Linked DNA regions of Homo sapiens: region 1 is linked to region 2. Evidence: promoter capture Hi-C in human tissues and cell types (Jung and others, 2019). All regions are on one chromosome and are shown on one strand. Each heading gives the region's core, a stretch centred on a gene start or on the middle of the fragment in contact. The rest is flanking DNA. Distances are from core to core; before and after follow the strand shown. Region 1 has its middle 40 kb from the start of CXCR5. Region 2 holds the start of SLC37A4 (solute carrier family 37 member 4).

The links. Contacts are between HindIII fragments. The study calls those that stand out against the background at their distance.
Region 1: a contact is called between a fragment that was not itself captured here and the fragment with the promoter of SLC37A4 in region 2, in 1 of the 25 tissues and cell types used here (pancreas).

What each region holds. Positions count from the first base shown.
Region 1 is chr11:118,840,971-118,845,946 of GRCh38, forward strand. No RefSeq gene overlaps it. Among named protein-coding and RNA genes, the nearest start is that of CXCR5, 40 kb to the right of the region's middle. RefSeq lists an enhancer at 522-571. The HindIII fragment of the contact is 5,445 bases long and covers 649-4,976 here.
Region 2 is chr11:119,029,627-119,033,867 of GRCh38, forward strand. It overlaps SLC37A4 (solute carrier family 37 member 4), which reads right to left and starts at 1,251. Exons shown (of 10, transcript NM_001467.6): 1 at 1,223-1,251. RefSeq lists a silencer at 706-865. The HindIII fragment of the contact is 21,386 bases long and covers 1-4,241 here.

The DNA.
Region 1 (4,976 bases), core at 2,121-4,620, 190 kb before region 2:
TACAAAATTAGCTGGGGTGGTGGCGCATGCCTATGATCCCAGTTACTCGGGAGGCTGAGGCAGGAGAATCGCTTGAACCCAGGAGGCGGAGGTTGCGGTGAGCCAAGATCGTGCCATTGCACCCAGCCTGGGCAAAAAGAGCGAAACGCCGTCTCAAAAAAAAAAAAAGAAAAGAAAAAGAAACTAAGAGGGAAATAAGGCCGGGCGTGGTGTCTCATGCTTGTAATCCCAGCACTTTCAGAGGCCAAGGAGGGTGGATCACTTGAGGCCAGGAATTCAAGACCAGTCTGGCTAACATGGTAAAACCGCATCTCTACCCAAAATACAAAAGTTAGCCAGGCTTGGTGGGACACGCCTGTAATCCTAACTACTCGGGAGGCTGAGGCAGGAGAATCACTTCAAACCAGGAGGTGGAGGTTACAGAGAGCTGAGATTATGCCACTGCATCCCATCCTGAGTGACAGAGACTCTGTCTGAAAAAAAGAAAGAAAGAAAGAAAAGAAACTAAGAGGGAAATGAGATTGGATAGTTGGGGTGGGTGAGGACTCTCAGAAAGGAGGGAGGGCTTCCCAGCAGAAGAGGCGTGTTTTCGTGCGTAAGAAGTGGCTGGGGAAAGCGAAAGCAGTGGGGGCACCCATGATGAGACTGGCTGGCTCTAGAAACATTAGTGGGATTTCACCCACACTTGCTTGGGTAACTTTCTGTTGTCATTGGGAAGCCAGTGGGACTTTCTCGTCCAAGATGAACCAGGGCCCATACACTTGCCACTTTCACTTGTTCCTAGAGGCTGTGTCATGTCTTGGCTGCCTCAGGGTGCAGGGACTATGCTCATATAGTAGGAAGGTAACGGCATACACAAATTAGGTGATTACAGGTCTCACACTTGTCAGTTGGCTCCATTCAATTTCATACTTGGTTCTTTCTCTTCCATGATCTCTATTTTGTTTCTTGAACAGACCAGGACTCTGTAAGCTGAAACGTTTGGTAAATTCCCTTCCTTGCCAGTTTACACTGACTTTGTACCCACAGTTCAAGGCTAAATCCCTTTTTGTCTGGGCTAGTGGTTGCCAAATCCCTTTTTGTCTGGGTTAGCCATTTCATGTAGAGACTGCTTCTCTACCTATACGCTTATTCAAATGCAGTAGTGAAACAAAATCAATGCACAGCCATACAATTACTACATAGCCTGTGTAAAGAATGATGCAGATCTATTTATATACAAATATGGTAAGCTCCATAATATATTATTAGATTTTTAAAAAGTAAGTCTCCAGACAACATTTATAGTAGTGTTTTGCGTGTGTGTGTTTATAATTGCATAGATATAGTTCTGGAAGGATACATGGTAAACTCAACTCTAACAAGTGTGTATATGACAGGAATGAAATAACTCTACTTTTTAGTTTGTTTTAAAAGTATTTTAATTTGCAAGCATCACTTCTATAATGTGAAACAAAAATTAAAAACCTCAAACCGTTGCTCTTCTTGGAGTCACTTGAATTGGTAGCCCTGAAGAAAATTCCTAAATTAGACTTTCTTCTGTTCTTGACTGAACGAGGATGAATGAGTCACCCAATCCTGTGCCAGGTACAGGAATAAATGCTGGACAGTTACAGATGAAAGAGAGCATGTTGCCCTTTAAGGACTTCAAAGTTTACAGAGAGACCAGAAAACAAGAAATTAAAGTACAGTATGATATATGCCACAGAGCTATACCTTGGAAAGAAAAAGGATGGACAGCACAGACTTTAAAGCAGTAACAGGAGGTGGGTAGGAAAGCCTTCCAGAGAAGGTAAGAATCGAGAGGAGTCTTTTATTTTCCCTGTTACTTTATTATTAAAAAATGTCAAACATAACTGAAAGGTTGAAACATCTGCAGATCCACCACCTAGATTCAACGATTGAACATTTTGTTGTATTCACTAGATATGTAATACAAATAAACAAATGCAAAGCCATTTGAAGTTTCACCCCTAAATATTTAAACCCCAACTCCTAAGAATGACATTATCTTACATAACCACAATGCCGTTATCAAACATAAAAATAACATTAAGGGCTGGGCATGGTGGCTCACGCCTGTAATCCCAGCATGGTGACTCAGGCCTATAATCCCAGCACTTTGGGAGGCTGAGGCAGTGGATCACCAGGTCAGGAGTTCGAGACCAGCCTGGCCAACACGGTGAAACTCCATCTCTACTAAAAATACAAAAAATTAGCCAGGTGTGGTGGCAGGCGCCTGTAATCCCAGATACTCGGGAGGCTGAGGCAGGAGAATCGCTTGAACCTGGGAGGTGGAGGTTGCAGTGAGCCAAGACTATGCCACTGCACTCCAGCATGGGAGACACAGCGAGACTCTGTCTCAAAAAAAAAAAAAGGCAAAAATGAACCCCCCCGATTAGCTGGGACAACAGGCATGCCCCAAAACACCCAGCTAATTTTTGTTTTTTAAGTAAAAATGAGGTTTCACCAAATTGGCCAGGCTGGTCTCAAACTTCTGACCTCGTGATCCACCCGCCTCAGCCTCCCAAAGTGCTGGGATTACAGGCGTGGGCCACCACACCTAGCCACAAGTATTATTCTCTAAATGTCATTGTGGTTAGATGTGGTGACAGAAGTGTTAGTGAGCTCTAGCTTGTCCTTGCTTTGCTCTGATCAGTGTCCAGAAATGCTTTCCAATTCCTGACCCTGTTGACCACCAGTGACCACCAGACACTTGGTGATGGATCCACAGAGGTGGCGGCTGCCCAGATGGCTCTCCAGGAGCCTTCTCATCACAGCCCCATGTCAGTGGCCAGATGCACTTCCCTCCCCACATTGGTGACTCCTCTTTTGATTCTCTGACTAACCTCTTGGTCTTTCCTTTCCCCAGCTTCTTCTACAATTGTGTAAAGCATAGTTCCCATAATAAATTCCTTATCTCATCATTCATGAAGGTTCTACCTCCCTGACTGATACACTTACTGGTACTGGCCGTGGTTTCAGGGGACAGATCATTAAGGATAGGAATTGGAAACTGGTTCTCTGACCTGATTAAACTTAAGTGCATTCATGATTGTTGCCAGCAGTAAACTTAAATTCTTAAACTCTACCTGTAATCACTTGTGATACATGCTTATAGACGGCAAAGCTTTGGGTAGCCAAATATTTGCTGCTGTAGAACATTTTAGTAGAAATAGGAATGTAATGAGGAATGTTGGTTGCTTCTACATATGGGGAAAGTTTGGAGAAAGAAAATGATGAGCTAAAGGCTTTAAATTTCCATCTCAAGTTCTGGAAAATGGACCAAAAAACTTGAAGACTGCCTTTAAAAAAAACTCTCATCTCTGATAGCCTCAAGGTCAAGATTTCTGATCACCAAACACTAAGTGTCCACTTGCAGCAGACTGAATTTCAACGCAAAGTGAATTCATAACCTACCAGGGTGTCTTATGTTCAAAATAAGACATTGATTGGAAAGGAGTAAGACCCTGAGTCTTAGGATACAGACATACGGATGGATTCCTATGAGGTCAAAGACCTTAAACCAAGCTTGACCAACCTGTGGCCCTGCAGGCTGCATGTGGCCCAGGATGGCTTTGAATGTGCCCAACACAAATTCATAAACTTTCTTTTTTTTTTTTTTTTTTTTGGACAGAGTCTCCCTCTGTCACCCAGGCTGGAGTGCAGTGGCACGATCTTGGCTCACTGCAACCTCTGCTTCTTAGGTGCAAGTGATTTTCCTGCCTCAGCCTCCTGAGTAGATGGGATTACAGGCACGCACCACCACACCCAGCTATTTTTTTTGTATTTTTAGTAGATATGGGGTTTCACCATGTTGGCCAGGCTGATCTCGAACTCCTGACCTCAGGTGATCACCCGCCTCAACCTCCCAAAGTCCTGGGATTATAGGCTTGAGCCACCACACTCGGCCATAAACTTTCATTATGAGCTTTGGCCAGGCGCAGTGGGTCACACCTGTAATCACAGCACTTTGGGAGGCCGAGGCGGGTGGATCACCTAAGGTCAGGAGTTCGAGACTAGCCTGGCCAACATGGTGAAACCCTCTCTCCACTAAAAATACAAAAATTAGCCAGGCGTGGTGGCGGTCGCCTGTGATCCCAGCTACTTGGGAGGCTGAGGCAGGAGAATCGCTTGAACCCGGGAGGCTGAGGTTGCAGTGAGCCAAGACAGCACCACTGCATTCCAGCCTGGGCAACAAGAGTAAAACTGTGCCTCAAAAGAAAAAACAAAAACAAAAAACAAAAACCACAACAACAACAATAAAAAACATTATGAGGTTTTTTGTGATCTTTTTCTTTCTTTTTCTTTTTCTTTTTTTTTTTTTAGCTCATCAGCTATTGTTAGTGTATTTTAAGTGTGGCCCAAGACAATTCTTTCAATGTGCCCCAGGGAAGCCAAAAGATTGGACACCCCTGCCTTAAACCCTAAATTCAGCTAACCCTCCTTAGCCAAAAAAAAGTGACCTTCTTCTCTATCTGCAGTTAATCTTCCCTTACCTAAAGAACCTGGGATGACCTCCCCAGAGCTAGTGGCCTTTCAGGGGACTGTGATCCTCCTAGGAACCTAACCCTTCCACCTCTTTTAGATCTGTAAGCTCAGAGATTCAAGTCATAGCAGGCCCCAGGGTGACTCATGAGGAAATACCATACAAACCAAAAGAATATTGAGAGTTTGTCAATGTATACATTGCTTCATGTTTTTTTTTTGACATAGTTTCATATTTACAGCAAAGTTATAAGAATAGTACAAACAATTCCTTTTATATTTTACCAAGATCCTCAAATGCTGATTTATACTGACTGAAACTCAGGGAATAGGTAGGGGAATAGATCTTGAAAGAGTGGGATCAGGATGGAAGAAATATAATTTTGGATTTGGATAAATTTATTTATGTATTTATTTATTATTTTTTGAGAGAGAGTTTCTCTCTGTTGCCCAGGCTGGAGTGCAGTGGCACAATCTTGGCTCACTGT
Region 2 (4,241 bases), core at 1-2,500:
CGGAAGGAGGCATGCCTGTGAGCCAGGCCAGCACCCTGTGTCCCCAGGATTTCTGCCTTTACCTCCTCTATCATGTCTGCTTGCCTGTGAAACCAGCTTTGATTAAAGGTTCAACCTAATTACTTTTGTCTGCCTGAGCCCAGGGGAGGCAGGGGTGGGATGAGCAGAGATGCCCTCTCTAGCCCTGCTCCCTCAGTCACAGAACCTTCTCATTCATTCACGGAAGGTTTATTAACTTACTAGTTGACAGGCACTGCACTTGGCACTATTAGTTTCTACACCCACTCACCACCACCGCACCAAAACACAAAGTCAGACACATACCCCGGCTACCCCACTTCTAAGCCTTCTAGAGAGGGCCTCAATCCGTGGAACTCTCAATACTTAGCACATAATAGATTTAATTGTTTCCTACAGTTGCCCCTTGTAATTCTGTGCAAGGGGGACCTCCCCAGTTCAGGTCCCACGGTGTCACACAGAAAGCCCCGCTAAGGGCTGAGGTCCTGATGGGGCCCCACAGAGCTACCTCTGGGTCCCCATTACCCTGCGACGTCAGTCTGGGCTTCCTTCGGGCTAGCTGGGGGCTGCAGGGTCTGGTTTCCAACCTGTGGGACGTTGGCAGGGGCCGCAAGCAGAGGGACTGGGCAGCTCGTGGGCGGGAAGGTGCCCCGGCGGGCTTCGGGCTGCAGGGCACAACCGTCCCGCCCAGGGCCCCGGCAACATGCCCCGGCTTTTCCGCTCAATTGGGAAAGCAACTGGAGCAGAAGGCGTAGGCGCACGCGGAGCGGGCGACCGCACGTATTCTCCCGGAGGCCCCGCGCTTCTGGCACCCAGAGGCTCAGCCTGGTAGGGGAGGGCCAGGCGGCGGGCGGGAGAGGAGGAGAGGCGGCGGGCGGCGAAGAGGCGGCGGGCTCGTGGCACCTGCCCAGCCCCGTGGGTCCTCACGCTACCCAGGACACGCTACTGTGCGGCTGGGAACCACGGGGGCCGGGGGTGCAGGAGCTGGAGAGGTGCGGAGACCACAGGACTGGCGCGATAGAAAGGGGTCTCGTGCTGGTGGTCAGGGACAGCGCCTCGGTGGCCCCAAGACCCATGAATTGTCTCTGGAACTGCAGGAACAGCTCCGGGTCGTATCGGAAGTTGGGGTTCGCCAACAATGGCTCCCCAAGACCTGAGATCCCCGCCCTCAGGTGACTCCCCTCCCCCGCATACCGCCTCCTACCTGAACAGAGGCGGGAGCCCGAATAGGACGGGGCGGGGCTAGCGAAGGCTGCGCAAGCGCGGCCGGCGGGGGCGTGGTCTTCGCCTGCTGCTTCGCTTGCCGGCCAGTGGAGTTCCCCGCCCCACATGCCGGGGACGTCGACTTACTCCCTCCCGCTGGTCACGCTGCTCCTTGGACGAACGAGCATAGCGCCCCTTAGGGGCTGGGCACGGCATGTCCAATTCTTAAGTGGTTGCATTCAACAAACCAGTTTTTAGTGAGTGCCCTCCTCTACAAAACACACCGAACACTAAGGTGATAATCATTGTTCCCAAGTTGCTCACAGTCTGGGAAAGGTGTTGTAGGAACACACAGTATTTTCTTTTTTTCTTTTTTTTTTTTTTTGAAACAGTCTCGCTCAGTCGCCCAGGCTGGAGTGCAGTGGCGCGATTTCGGCTCACTGCAAGCTCCTCCTCCCGGGTTCACACCATTCTCCTGCCTCAGCCTCCCGAGTAGCTGGGACTACGGGCGCCCACCACCACGCCCGGGTAATTTTTTGTATTTTTAGTAGAGACGGGGTTTCACCGTGTTTGCCAGGATGGTCTCGATCTCCTGACCTCGTGATCCGCTCACCTCGGCCTCCCAAAGTGCTGGGATTACAGGCGTGAGCCACCGCGCCCAGCCCACAATTTGGAATTTTAACTTGTGGTTAGATTGTTGGGGACAGAGACGGGGCCTGGAGTAAATATCAAATTCTAGTCCTAGACCCACAGCATTCTAACTGTATGACCTTGGTTAATCTCTATGAGCTCCCGTTTCCTACCAGCCTGGTAGATCATTGTGAAGACTCAACAGATGATTTAGATAAGAGCTCAGAAATTCTATAAGAGTTCTCAACAACAATGGTTTTCACTGATCCCAGTTAAGAGTTGTGAGGAGTAACAGTAGTGATGCTATTTTACAACAATGATGACTGTGTTCTCAGAAACAGAGCAAATGTTAACCCTGCCCATAGCTTCAACAGAAGGTAACATAGCCTAACAAAGTCCCCAACAGTCCCAATCAGCCAGCACTTCCCGACCTCTCCCCAATAGAAACGATATTATAAAAGCCTCAGCTTGTAAGCGATCAGGGTCTCAGCCAGACTCCTGACTGGAACTCCTTGCAGGCTTATTCCTGTGAATAAACCTGTTTGGCCGTTGAGTTGCCTCCTGTCTCTCGCTCTCTTCCCTTATATCTTCCTAACAAGAGTGGCTGAAGGAATTGTAAGTGTTCCAAAATTGAGAGCAAAGATCTTTTACTCCAGAGAAGATGGTCAGGGAAGGGAGGAGGAGGAGATGAGATAAAATAGGATGACAGGCCGGACGCGATGGCTCATGCTTGTAATCCCAGCACATTGGGAGGCCAAGGCGGGCAGATCACTTGAAGTCAGGAGTTCGAGACCAGCCTGGCCAACATGGTGAAACCCTGTCTCTACTAAAAATACCAAAATTAGCCAGGCTTGGTGGCACACGCCTGTAATCCCAGTTACTGGGGAGGCTGAGGCAGGAGAATTTCTTGGACCTGGGAAGCAGAGGTTGCAGTGAGCCGAGATCGTGCCACTGCACTCCAGCCTGGGTGACAGAGCGAGAGCCTGTCTCAAAAAAAAAAAAAAAAAAATAGGATGACGATGTCACTGAACTTCGTTAATTCAAAATCGGGGAGGAGCCTAGTTTGTACCAGGCACTGTGCTTTCAGCCAGGTAGATCCAAGGACCAGGAAACAGTTCCTCCGAAACCAAACCAGAGCAGATTCTTACTTTACCTAATAGAGGAGTAGGAAGCCATCAGGTTTTTCTCCGCTTTTATTTTTAAGATTTAACATACACATAATAAAATACAAAAAGTGCAGGAATCTTACATGTACAACTCAGTGATTTTTTACACATGTTAATACCCGTGTAACCACCACCTAAATTAACAGCCCTATCGTTTTGTTTTGGAAGTGGAGTGATCTCAGCTCACTGCAACCTCCTTCTCTGGGGTTCAAGCGATTCTCCTGCCTCAGCCTCCCGAGTAGCTGGGATTACAGGCATGCCCCACCATGCCCAGCTAATTTTGTAATTTTAGTAGGGGTAGGGTTTCTCCATGTTGGTCAGGCTGGTCTCAAACTCCTGACTTCAGGTGATCTGCCCCCCTTGGCCTCCCAAAGTGCTGGGATTACAGGCATGAACAACTGCACCCAGCCAACCCGGTTAATTTTTCTATTTTTTGTAGAGACAAGAGTTTCACCATATTGGCCAGGCTGGCCTCGAAATCCTGAGCTCAAGGGATCCACCTGCCTTGGTCTTCCAATATCCTGGAATTACAGGCATGAGCCACTGTGCCTGGTCGATGGTGTTTATTTGTTTGTTTGTTTGTTTTTGAGACAGAGTCTTGCTCTGTCGGCCAGGCTGAAGTGCAGTGGCAGGATCTCGGCTCACTGCAACCTCTGCCTCCTGGGCTCAAGCCATTCTCCTGCCTGAGCCTCCTGAGTAGCTGGGATTACAAGCATGTGCCACCACGCCCAGCTAATTTTTGTATTTTTAGTAGAGACAGGGTTTCACCCTATTGGCCAGGCTGGTCTCGAACTCCTGACCTCAGGTAATCCGCCCACCTCGGTCTCCCAAAGTGCTAGGATTACAGGCGTGAGCCACTGCGCCCGGTCTGTTTTTTTTGTTTGTTTGTTTGTTTGTTTGTTTGTTTTTGAGACAGGCTTGCTCTGTTGCCCAGGCTGGAGTGCAATGGTATCTTAGCTCACTCTAACCTCAAATTCCTGAGCATTGAGCGATCCTCCCAAGTAGCTAAGACTACAGGACCAGGCCACCTGGGTTCAAGCGATTCTTCTGCCTCAGCTTCCTGAGTAGTTGGTATTATAGGTGCCCGCAAACACGCCTGGCTAATTTTTGTATTTTTAGTACAGACAGGGTTTCTTTCTTTCTTTTTTTCTTTTTCTTTCTTTTTTTTTTTTTTTTTTTTGAGACAGAGTCTCGCTCTCTCGCCCAGGCTGGAGTGCAGTGGCA